Linked DNA regions of Homo sapiens: regions 1, 3 and 4 are each linked to region 2. Evidence: promoter capture Hi-C in human tissues and cell types (Jung and others, 2019). All regions are on one chromosome and are shown on one strand. Each heading gives the region's core, a stretch centred on a gene start or on the middle of the fragment in contact. The rest is flanking DNA. Distances are from core to core; before and after follow the strand shown.

The links. The method cuts DNA at HindIII sites, captures the fragments that hold promoters and counts their contacts. A contact is called where the count stands out against the background at its distance.
Region 1: a contact is called between a fragment that was not itself captured here and the fragment with the promoter of GAP43 in region 2, in 1 of the 25 tissues and cell types used here (mesendoderm cells).
Region 3: a fragment that was not itself captured here is called in contact with the fragment with the promoter of GAP43 in region 2 in 1 of the 25 tissues and cell types used here (thymus).
Region 4: a contact is called between a fragment that was not itself captured here and the fragment with the promoter of GAP43 in region 2, in 2 of the 25 tissues and cell types used here (neural progenitor cells and pancreas).

The regions. Positions count from the first base shown.
Region 1 is chr3:115,685,310-115,688,242 of GRCh38, forward strand. The region is part of intron 2 of GAP43 (growth associated protein 43); the gene reads left to right. Among named protein-coding and RNA genes, the nearest start is that of GAP43, 63 kb to the left of the region's middle. The HindIII fragment of the contact is 8,363 bases long and covers 1-2,933 here.
Region 2 is chr3:115,622,217-115,625,163 of GRCh38, forward strand. It overlaps GAP43 (growth associated protein 43), which reads left to right and starts at 1,294. Exons shown (of 3, transcript NM_002045.4): 1 at 1,294-1,503. The coding sequence starts at 1,474. The HindIII fragment of the contact is 4,830 bases long and covers 1-2,947 here.
Region 3 is chr3:115,668,668-115,671,692 of GRCh38, forward strand. All of the region lies in intron 1 of GAP43 (growth associated protein 43), which reads left to right. Among named protein-coding and RNA genes, the nearest start is that of GAP43, 47 kb to the left of the region's middle. The HindIII fragment of the contact is 4,688 bases long and covers 1-3,025 here.
Region 4 is chr3:115,581,081-115,584,096 of GRCh38, forward strand. No RefSeq gene overlaps it. Among named protein-coding and RNA genes, the nearest start is that of GAP43, 41 kb to the right of the region's middle. The HindIII fragment of the contact is 6,224 bases long and covers 1-3,016 here.

The DNA.
Region 1 (2,933 bases), core at 70-2,569, 63 kb after region 2:
ACCTGTGGGTGGCCCTTGCTAGTGTGTGACAGAAACACCCAGGGAAGAAATGATTTGCCAGGTTCCTTGGCTTCCTTTCCTCATCTGACACAATTAAGTAATCTTTGCAAGGTGTGTAAGAGTCTATTGAACCTGCTGTTGCTCCACTGTAGGGTGAATTGTTATTGTGTTCCCAAACCAACAGTGTTGGGACACAGACCAGTAAACAGGCTTTCCCATTCCTTAATGCAAACATAATTTGTGTACAGCCTGTGAGCTATTCAGATTACAGACCATGAGGGACATTGCAGTGGGAGGCTGAAAGGATTCTTCCCTACACAAAAACTGCAACTTAAAGTCACCCTCATGTATTTGGTAAAAAGACAGAATGTGCCCCACTTTGTGAAATTCTATTCCAGTTTAAAGGGCTAAGAAAGCGCAGAGTTCAGTAATGTGGTTTCAGTGTTCTCCCCATTGGTGTAATCAAATCCTTTTAGAAGGAAAACCAGCGGTGGAAGATTTTTTTTATTTCCTCCTTCCTCTTCCTTTGATATTGGTGGTTTAATTATAATAGATTCATAAGAGAACCTGGCCCCTATTGGAAGATATGTTAGTTTTCTTTTTCTTGCCACCAAGGTGTAAACCATTCATTATGATTTTATCAGATATCTGCAGCGGCATGCTGGTAAACTGGCTCTCCAAAAAATAAAACAAAACTCTAACAGCCTTTATTTGTAGTTTTTGCCAATTTCTATGGTATAAATACTCCCATCCTAGCTGATTTCAGGCTACCAATGTGTAATCTCCAAATAAGCAGTTGGGAAGAAGTGCTAATATCTTGCTGTCAGCAGCCAACGTTAGTCAGCTCCAGCATACCCCAGATCATTATATTTTAGCAATTTGATTAATTTTATTTTGATAATTCTAAAATACTAAGAATAGTAATTATCAACTTCCAAATAATGTATCAGTGTAGAAGCATATAAATATACATTTGTAAAACCACATAGTTATGTACATATATATGTGATGCCATGAGAAGTACTTTCAACATTCGCAGTCATTTCTGTTGAGCATTGTACACTTGCTAAAGGTTAAGGAAGAAAAGTAAAGTTTAGAATTGGTATTCTTGTATTCAATTAGAAAAGCAATTGCTACTGAAGGAATTTGTACATTGTCCTCAAAATTTGATCTGAGCTGTATCTTTTTAATGCATTGAAAGGCTTTTCATCTTTTTTTAAAGGAAAGTGCATAATTTATTATATTTATGAGGTTATAATAAAATGGATACTTAGGAACTTTAAACATGAGTTAAAAGTAATCATCAGATATAAAATTCTCAAATCTTGGAACCCAAAATACTAAATTTTAGAATTTTCTTAAAACCTCTTTCTCATGATTAACTTAGTTTGAAAATTATTATGTTCTTTCATAAGAAAAGAAGGAAAATTTAAAAATAGACATGTTGATGGAGGCAATAGTTCTTCTCAGCTGGTTTTTCGGAGATGATTTCAGGGTTCAGATTGATTTGCAACCATTTAACATTTAATGCAGAGGAAGAGTTGACTATTTCCTTCCCTCATACTAATTTTTAGTGAGAAAGATGCTTTTCGTGCTAGGAGGAACATTGTGAAACAATGTCTTCACAGAGGTAGAATCAGATGAGTAAGTAATTGCTGAAGGCAGACATTTTCAAAATTGTTAGCCTAGGCACTATTTGCTCAAATGAGTTTAAAATATATACACTAAACCCCAAAGCAGAGAAGCTTTGGTTGAGAATGATAGGGGAAAGTGGAGATGACTGAAGATGTCCTGAAATCCCCCCTCTTTTTTTTTTTTTGCATCTATCCCTACCCTCTAGGTAGATCATTTCTGAGCCTTGAAGTACAGTTTGAAAAATGCAAATTTCAGAAATTTCTCAGCTACTTATTGTCTACATGTGGACAGCAATAAAAGAGTCAATGCCAATCGATCTCATTTACTGTAAGCTGATCTTCACAATGAGTATGGATAACTGCACCCATATTGATGATATAGTAGATTTTGTGTATTACTTATAAGGTCAACAGAAAATTGATTCATATTACAGTCCTATTGTGTAGTCGCAGATAGGACTGGTGTGAGTAACTTCTAAACATGGCTTTAGGCAACTAACCACTGTTCCATTTAATTTTAGTTCCACTGGTATTAAAACCATGCAGAATTTATTTTCTAAATGATATTTTACAAATCATAATCCCAAAGAAAATTTATTTTCTAGAATCCTCAATCAATGAACTTTGAGTTGTGTTGCTGGAGCCTGGAGTTCCATGGAGCAGCATCTCAGCAGTAGTTTCTGGGAATTGCGGTTGTTTTGCAGAGGCCAGGTTAACAAGGATTGGGTTCCTAGGATTGGGGTCCTATCTCGCAATCCCCTACACCTCTACCAAACTATTTCGTGATCTTGGTTAAACTTTGATTTCACATTTTAACTAATAATAATTAAAAATTACTGTTTTAAACTTAAGACCAAATTCAAAAGGTCTTCAATCTTGGCAAGATTAAAACTCAACATAATTCAAAACTCATCTTTTCAGGCAGGCATCCAATCTGTACTTAGCTTGAATTGTTTATTTTACAAACAGATACTGCTCAAATTCTAAAATTTGACTTGTAGTATAAACCATAAAAAAATGGAATTTGAGTGACTCACCCAGGGTTACTAACGAAATTTTTTTATTATTTATTTATTTATTTATTTATGTTTGAGATGGAGTCTCACTCTATCACCCAGACTGGAGTGCAGTGGTGCAATCTTGGCTCACCGCAACCTCCGCCTCCCGGGTTCAACCGATTATCCTGCCTCAGCCTCCCGAGTAGCTGGGATTACAGGAGTGTGCCACCATGCCCAGCTAATTTTTTGGATTTTTGGTAGAGATGAGGTTTCGCCATGTTGGTTTCACCAGGTCTCAAGC
Region 2 (2,947 bases), core at 44-2,543:
CGAATTTCAGAAAAGTACAGTCTCTGGAGTAAAGCTATTATACACTCAGAGAGACTGTTGTGCTTTGCATGCGTTATATCATTTAGTCCTCAAAACATGTTGTCAAGATTGGCATTATTATCTCCATTTTAAAGATGAGAAAATTAGGTGCAAAGAGCTTCAGTAACACACTCAAACTCATTCAACAATAAATAACTAAAAATTGTGCTATACACACTTTAAGAGTCACATGTTCCTCCCCCAAAATTATGAAAGGCCATAGAAGGAATTCAAGAAGTAGGCTTCATGACTTATCGTTTCTTCTCATCTCAGATGAATTCACTTTAATCTCTCATGCCCAAATTGTAAAATATCATTTTGATCACCGTCAATATTACACAGACCTGTTTGAATGTGCTCAGCTTTTTCAGTAAAATTAGAAGAAACCACAATTTACAAACAGGTATATGTGCATTAAGGAAAAAACAAAAAACTACCATGTGATTTTAGATATGGATGCCAATTCTTAAACATTGTTTATTATTTCTGAGCTCAAGTGCTTAGAATGTTTAAAATGCAATATATTTATGTGGATTTTTTTCCAGGATATTGGAACATATATAAAATATGCTTGTGCATATCTAAGCTTTGTATTTATTTCAGGTTATATGTATACTGAGAAGAATATATAAACAGTGTATGATATTTACATGTTATTTCATTTTTTGAGGGAAATTAACCTCCACAATTATTAACTATGCATAAAATGTAATGGCAGATATGACTTATATTGTATAGGACTGACTACAATTCCTCTTTAGAAATAGCTGTTCTTTGCTTTTATAATACTAGGAAAAGAGGAAAAGAGTTCTTAAAGAAATACAAGGATTCCTCAAGCCCCTCTTCCCTAAAACATGCTCTATCATATCTCCTGGATTGACTGGAATATCCTTCTCTGCCCCCACCCCATCACCCTCTCAATGCAGTGGAAAAGTCGGTGGGTAATTGGGTCCAGATTGGAGGTGTTTAAATATTCATGAGGCTGGCAGGGGACTGGGAGGGGGCGACTGTCTAGAATGGGGGTAGGGGCTGGGGGAAGTGATTAGTCACTGAAGGCTAGAGAACAATTCCGAGAAAGAGACGGAGAGAGAGGGAAGAAAAAGACAGATAGATAGATATTGGGGGGAAGGAGAAAAAAGGAGAAGAGAGGGAAGAGAGGACAGCGGAGAGAGAGCACCAGAGAGAGAGGGAGAGAGAGAGAGAGCGCTAGAGAGAGGGAGCGAGCATGTGCGATGAGCAATAGCTGTGGACCTTACAGTTGCTGCTAACTGCCCTGGTGTGTGTGAGGGAGAGAGAGGGAGGGAGGGAGAGAGAGCGCGCTAGCGCGAGAGAGCGAGTGAGCAAGCGAGCAGAAAAGAGGTGGAGAGGGGGGGAATAAGAAAGAGAGAGAAGGAAAGGAGAGAAGGCAGGAAGAAGGCAAGGGACGAGACAACCATGCTGTGCTGTATGAGAAGAACCAAACAGGTAGAGCTAAAGATTTTTTACTTCTTGCTGTTGTGAAATAACCCGAGTACAGTATTTCCCCGTAAAGGCAAACAATTTTTTTACTGCTTCTGCTCTGGCCGTGGTGCTCGCGCTTCCTTAGCATATGGTAACTGATGGTTGCATCCCAGCTTTTATTCTTTTCTGTCTTTCATGCTCTGGTTTTGGAATGCTGCTACTAATTAGGGTGAGGGTAGAAAAAACATGCCTGTTTGGCTAGAAATAATTTTTTTTTTTCTTATTAGTGAATGCTCAGCATTTGAGGTCTCTGGTCTTGAGGGTGTGGACGTAGAAAGGGGTGTGGGGGAGATGATGTGGGCTCTACCTACAAGATGGGGAGGCATTTCTTTATATTATTTGCAAAAAAGCAGGGTTGAGGAAATAATATTCAGAACTGAGTATTGCCTCTCTGTCATACAATTTTCTCACATGTGCTGCGGAAGATGCCTTATTTCGTGCATGCATGAGCTTCGAAGGGGCGCAGGTATTTATGGAAAAACGTGCAGGTCTTATTTATTTAGTATTTATTTTTCAATGAATGAATGAAACTGTGATTTGATAGATTTTTTTTTTTTTTAAGAGAAGCTAAGACAACTGGGGCTGGGGGAGAAATTGGCCATGCAGAAGGAGAAAATCCCCTTCCTAAGATCAGCAGCCGATTGTGCACCAGCTGGTCGGAGGAGAGGGTGGACCACGCCCCTAGGAGCTCCGATGGGATGGGAAAGACAGCCGGGTATTACCTGTTGGAAACCAGGTCTTTTCTCTTATCCCCTTCCCTTGCTTCTTTCCTGGGATTGTCAGTGACCAGAGACAGGCTAACATCCTGGATAATAAGTATGGTGACTCATTTTCATCAGGAAGAGGGACACATCCAAGATTAGCAAGAATCAGAGCCCCTCCTTCCCTCCCCCACTGCCCAGGTTTTACAGCCATTTCCAATTGCTCGCTTATTTCTTGAAAGACATTTTAGAAACTTGATTGGGGTGAGAGTGGGAAGGAATGACGAGTGTGGTATTCCGCAGCAACCGACCATGCCATGGCAGTCTCCAAAAGAAGCTTTCAAACATTTGTTGGAATGCATTTGAGTGATTTTGGCAAAGGTTAAAGAGAAAAATGGGTGTGGGATACGGGTGAGTGTGTGCGTATGCTTGACTGTGGTGGGGGTGGGGGTGTGGTGGGGGCAATCTTGGTCAAAGAAGCCCTTCGCAGACTGATTGCCTTAGGGGTGGGGTGCAAGAGATGGAATTTGGGTATAATTTCCAGTGCAGGTATTGGAAATTGGGCAATTTGTAATACACTCCCTGAATCCGAAGGGGGTGGAAGAGAGTGGAGAAGAAACAGCCTGCCAGCTTAGCACATTTAGCCAGCGCCCTGGAAGGAAGGGTGGGGAGTGAGGATGAAGGAGAAGGAGCAGGAAGAGGATGGG
Region 3 (3,025 bases), core at 187-2,686, 47 kb after region 2:
CCCACCTCAGCCTCACAAAGTGCTGAGATTACAGGCATGAGCCACAGCACCCAGCCACTTTCACCAGTTTTGCTAGTGAAAACGCATATAAGCAGGGAGCAGTGCCTCACACTGTAATCCCAGCACTTTGGGAGGCCGAGGCAGGAAGATGGCTTGAGTCCAGGAGTTTGAGACCAGCCTGGGTAATATGGTGAAATGTTGTCCATCTCTACAAAAAATATAAAAATTAGCTGGGCATGGTGGCACATAGCTGTAGCCCCAGCTATTTGAGAGACTGAAGTGGAAGGATTGCTTGAGCTTGGGAGGTCAAGGCTGCAGCAGTCATCTGAGATAGTGCCACTGCGCTCCAGCCTGGGTGACAGAGAGTGACCCTGTCTAAAAAAAAAAAAAGAAAGAAAAAGTACACACACACACACACACACACAGAAAAATAATTTTATTGATATGACTCTAACGAGTCAATAGATAAATATAAATCAGTTGTCTTTATCTTAGATGTATTATTATTTTCAAGTGCTTGTTTATTATTATGATCAATGGCGTTTCTATAGCTTTGCTATTTCTTTTCTTGTTAAACCTCTGCTTACTAATTTCTATAATTGGGGAATCATATACCTGTTGTAGTTAGATGCTCTTGAATTCCACCACTGAGAAGTGAAGGATTTTAACAAAAATTGACAAAATCGAATCCAGATTTCTTCACCTGTCATCATCTTTCTGAAATAGCACTAATGGAGATGCTCAGATTTTGGATTCATCCAATAAATATTAATTGAGCATCTACTTTGTGCCAGGCACCATTCTAGAAACTGGCATTCAGCTCTAAGTAAAATAGACAAGGTACTTCTCAAAGGCTGACTTTTTTTCTGTTTGAAGGCATCAGTTGCAATACATTATTTACCTCTTCTATGTCTTTGTGGGACATAATAGGGTTATAGATATACAAAATAAAAGAAAACAACTTTTCAGACTGGAAACTGAGTTCTACTCTGATAATGCTTTATACTATGTTGAAGATACCACCTCATATTATTTTGGAAGCAGGTGGGCTGTACATGTTGAATAAATAATACATTAAAGTGGACTGAAGACCCATCTTTTGATCACCAGCTCTTATCTGAAAAGTTAACATTACTACTGCAGTTTCCAATATGAGATATTTTGTTTTCTTATACAGTTTCATTGCTTCTCTGCGCACTCTGCTCCCCATTCCCCTCATACCCTAGGTATGAGGTCTTCAAACCAGACTGCATGTTGGGGGATCCGGTGTATGCCCACTGTGCTTATTCATCTTTTTATTTTTATTTTTTTTTTTTAATTTTTTTTTTAATTTTTTTTTTTATTATACTCTAAGTTTTAGGGTACATGTGCACATTGTGCAGGTTAGTTACATATGTATACATGTGCCATGCTGGTGCGCTGCACCCACTAACGTGTCATCTAGCATTAGGTATATCTCCCAATGCTATCCCTCCCCCCTCCCCCGACCCCACCACAGTCCCCAGAGTGTGATATTCCCCTTCCTGTGTCCATGTGATCTCATTGTTCAATTCCCACCTATGAGTGAGAATATGCGGTGTTTGGTTTTTTGTTCTTGCAATAGTTTACTGAGAATGATGGTTTCCAATTTCATCCATGTCCCTACAAAGGACATGAACTCATCATTTTTTATGGCTGCATAGTATTCCATGGTGTATATGTGCCACATTTTCTTAATCCAGTCTATCATTGTTGGACATTTCATCTTTTTAAAGGACACTTTCTTCCTTACACCTGCACCGAAACCGGCAGTGACATTCCATCTATAGAACTGGAGGAGGCTGGCCCACTGTCTTCTCTCTCCTCCCTAAGGGGTATTTTACTGTATTTTTGATCTTTGTCTAGGTTTAAAGAAAGTACAGAAGCTCCACTGTGAACTACTTTAATACTTGCACATTTTCCCTAAAGTCAATTGCCATGGTATCAATGATGCTTAAAAATAGAGTGAAATTTTGTTATGTGACTTTCACCTCAATAAATTATTAATAAAAAATAAAGTGGGCCATAAGTAGGTACTTCCCAGATTTTATTTATATTTATCAACACTTTATTCTGGTTCCTTTACAGGCTGTAGAAGATTCTGATAGGCATGAAAACTACAACATATTTAAAAAAACATTGCTTAGGATATCTCCGGCCTTTCAAGTTTGTTCTCAAAAATAACTTTGCTTGATCAAATGAACTATATTTTGGTTTACTAAAGATGTTCTCAGAAAGAAGAATATGTGTACATCAATGATTTGTAATGCATTTAAAATTCAATACTATTTTTTAAAAATTTAAGTATTATAATGGTACTATTTATAGCTAGCAGAAGTAGATATAGGGCCAAGTTTTAATTTGCTTGGAAGGTTGAGGCATTCCTATGATAACTGGGAAAAGTGAAATGCATTGAGGTATCCCAGATGAATGGATGATGTTATTTTTAGTTCTGAAAGTTAGCCATTCATGGATTTTTGCCTAGAGCTCTTTTGTAACATATTGAATGCAAATGTTTGGACATTTTAGAATAAATCTTAAGTTGTCCATTCCTCCTTTCCCCAAAGGAAAAGAAGACCAGAGCAACAATGTTGGATACTTAAGTAATTACTTCTTATTTCTGGCTTTCTTATCTGTAATTCTTAAATATCAATTAAAATCATTGTTCATTCATCTAATGGATTTAGAAGTTTCATTAGTGTCAACAAGTTAGTGTAATGGTACTCTTCATTTTTTCCAACCAATATTCATCTGAGATTTTAATGTTTGTTTAAAAAGTAGGGATGTCCTACACCTTGGTTTCCTTTAAGACTTCATAAATTGCAGAGCTCTCAAACAAATCAGTCAGTAAAAAATATTAAGCCATAACAATAAAGATTCCTGAAAAACTTATGGTAACTCGTAATGACACCCTTCCTACCTATAATGTACTGCACTGGAATGTCCTCTTTACTTAATTCGCAGATATCAACAATTCTGTGTAAAAATGAAATAACTTTGAAATTCC
Region 4 (3,016 bases), core at 436-2,935, 41 kb before region 2:
GCCTAAGCAGTAAAGTGCAAAAGTCAGTGCTGTTGGCTCCCTAGTTTTAAGAGGACTTTGGCCATTTCTGGGTTTGGTCCCTTGGAAAAAAACACCTGAGGCTTCCACAGGGCAAGGTGGAAACAGGCCTCCCTGAAGAGTTAATTGTTACAAATTGCTTCTTATGATGATTGTGTAATTACATTTTCTGTACTAACCTTATGTATTTAAGGAGCATTATAGTACAGCCCCTAGTAAACTATGTTTCGTGCTGATTTCCCACATACCTCCACATGCTGTGATATTTTCCAAACAATTTATGTTCTTTGTCAGCTTTTAGTTTGGTGAAAACTTTGAAAAATCCAATGTTAAAACTTCCTAGGACAAGAGTTGTGCAAATGGCAGGGGACCTGCGGCAGCCTGATCACATTTCTTGCTTCATCCACTGCTTCACTTGACAATATGGGAGTTGAGCCAGAGTGAGTGATGTAACTGCTCTGAAATAAATGGTGGAGTCCCAGTTTCCTTCTGCATGCTAGTGGATCATCCTTGACCTCAGTTCTCTAAAACCCTTGAAGAGCATCAAAGAAATCCCTGAAAGGGTAGGGAGTCCCCAGAATCCCTTTAAGATGCAAACAATCAAGCTTAGTGTTGCAGAAACCATACAGATCATAGCCAACTACTGCCAAATAAAGCAGCAAATCCCTCTAATTAGAAAGGCCAATTAAAGAATTAAAGGGGAAATTGTGAATCCCTTATCATGGATGATAAAGAATGTCTCTCTTCTTTCTTTGATGTTAATCATCTGTGTGGTATTGTCCTGGGTTAAGTACCCTCAGGACTCTTTATGAGTAGCACTATGACAGAGTGTGAGTCAGCCGGAGCGACACAACTCGAGAGAGAGACAGGGCAATCTAAACCTGAGCGAGAGACGGGGCAATCTAAACTTGTTGGGTGTGTGCTCTTTTTTTCTTTTCTCTGCTTATCTGCGTCTCAAATATGTTTGCTCAGTCTTTTAAACCAATGGCTTCTGAGAATCGTTGTTTTCCTATAGATGGGAGAGTAGTAGATGAGAACACAGGATAGGTTTGTCAGTCTAGGACCTGCTGGTGGTGAGTAAAACAAAGAGATAATTAAACCATCATAGGTAGGTGTACTTGTTCACCTTGGTGCAGCTTCCTAATTCATATTCCTGACTTAGAACTTAAGAAGATTCTTCCTATTGAAACTGTCTTTGCAAAAATTATAACTGAGAAAACAATGACAGTGAAAGATATCTGACCTAACTGACTCCATCTTGCTTCTAACCTCCAAGCTGTCCTTGTTTACCCCTGGGCATAGGGTTAACTAACTTTGGGAGGAACTTAGTTTATAGTTTAACTTTGAAACAAAGATGGTAACAGCCCTTTCCCAAAACAAACCCCCTTCCTGCCTGGGGACTAGACTGCTTTTGAAGGACTAACAAATTAGCCACGAGATTAGAGATTATAGTTTAGGAATCATGCAGCCAGAGGCTGCAAAATTCTGAACCTCTCCAAATTGCTCCTGTGGATAACATCACTATGGTAAAACCTAAGATCAGTGAGTGAGCTATTTTGCAGACCCTGTACGCAATGGATCAGCTGGTACCATCCAGATCGGTAAACTGACTCATCTGGTGTTGTGGTCCCCACCTGGGAACTGACTCAGTGCAAGAGGATGGGTTCAACTCCCTATGATTTCATCACTGACCCAACCAATCAGCACTCCCAACTCACCGGTCCCATCCCCCTAATTATCCTTAAAAACTCTGATCCCTGAATTCTCTGGGAGACTGATTTGAGTAATAATAAAACTCCCGTCTCCTGTATAGCCAGCTCTGTTGAATTAAACTCTCTATTGCAATTCCCCTGGCTTGATAAATTAGCTCCGTCTAGGCAGTAGGCAAGGAGAACCCGTTGGGCCATTACACTATTGACTCTATTTGGGTTCACAAATAGAAAAATGTACTAAATTGTCTTATAAGGGATGTAAAAAGAAAATATTCATTTGAGATATTGGAATGATACAAACCTCTGTCTTTGAACGACTTTTCGTTATGTAACATTGACTGAGAGGCTTACTGAATACCAACCACTGTACTGGTCTGTGTGTTTTCCCTGAATTGTCTCATTTTATACTCACAATGACTTTTAGGATATGTTTCCTTTAGGGTATTATTTTCATTTGACAGATGAGAAAACTGAGGCCTAGAAAGGATAAGTAATTTGCCTAAGGGTACAAATCTAGTAAGTAGCAGAGGAGGAACTTGTCCTAGGCAATAAAATTCTAGTTAGTTAATACATTATGCTACCCTTAATAACATTGCCTTTGTAATGTGTTTAACATAAAGTCCTATTTATATGTGAGGTATTCTTCTTCTTATTATTAATATACATTTGGTTTTCGAAGCCATTGAGATGATACAACAGACGTATTAAAATGTAGACACACGAGAAAATATAAAACAAATTAACATGTTTCTAGTAATATCTTCTTTAAGCCCAATCATTGAGGGGTAGACCTGGCTGTAGCTTCTTCTTATCTTTCATGTATCTTTAAAAAATAAAGTAGATTCTTTTGACCTATCCCCTGAATTTTTATTACAACCTACCAAATATGAAAGAATATACAGTTAAGGGTAAAAGAGAAAGGATTAATATAAACAAAGCTATTTATAATATTATTCAATGCTTTCCTTAAATCATTTGAAAGATTCTACATGAAGCTATAATGATATGATTTTCTTTGAAACAAATTGCTTATTTTCTTGATTCTTAGATGCAAATTTCTTCACATCTTGATGTTTTTTAAACTAGTAGATGCCTTATAATCAATGTGAACACTTAATGTGGAGTTTTTTACCCTCCTTCCACCCTCCAAGAAGCTATTATTAAAACTATGGTGCATCTTAGTATCTTAAAATAGAAGAAATGCAGTAGTATTTTACAATTTTGTTAAGATTTATAATACTAGGCCTGCCAATATAGATCACCCACTGTTTGACTACACGGACAAT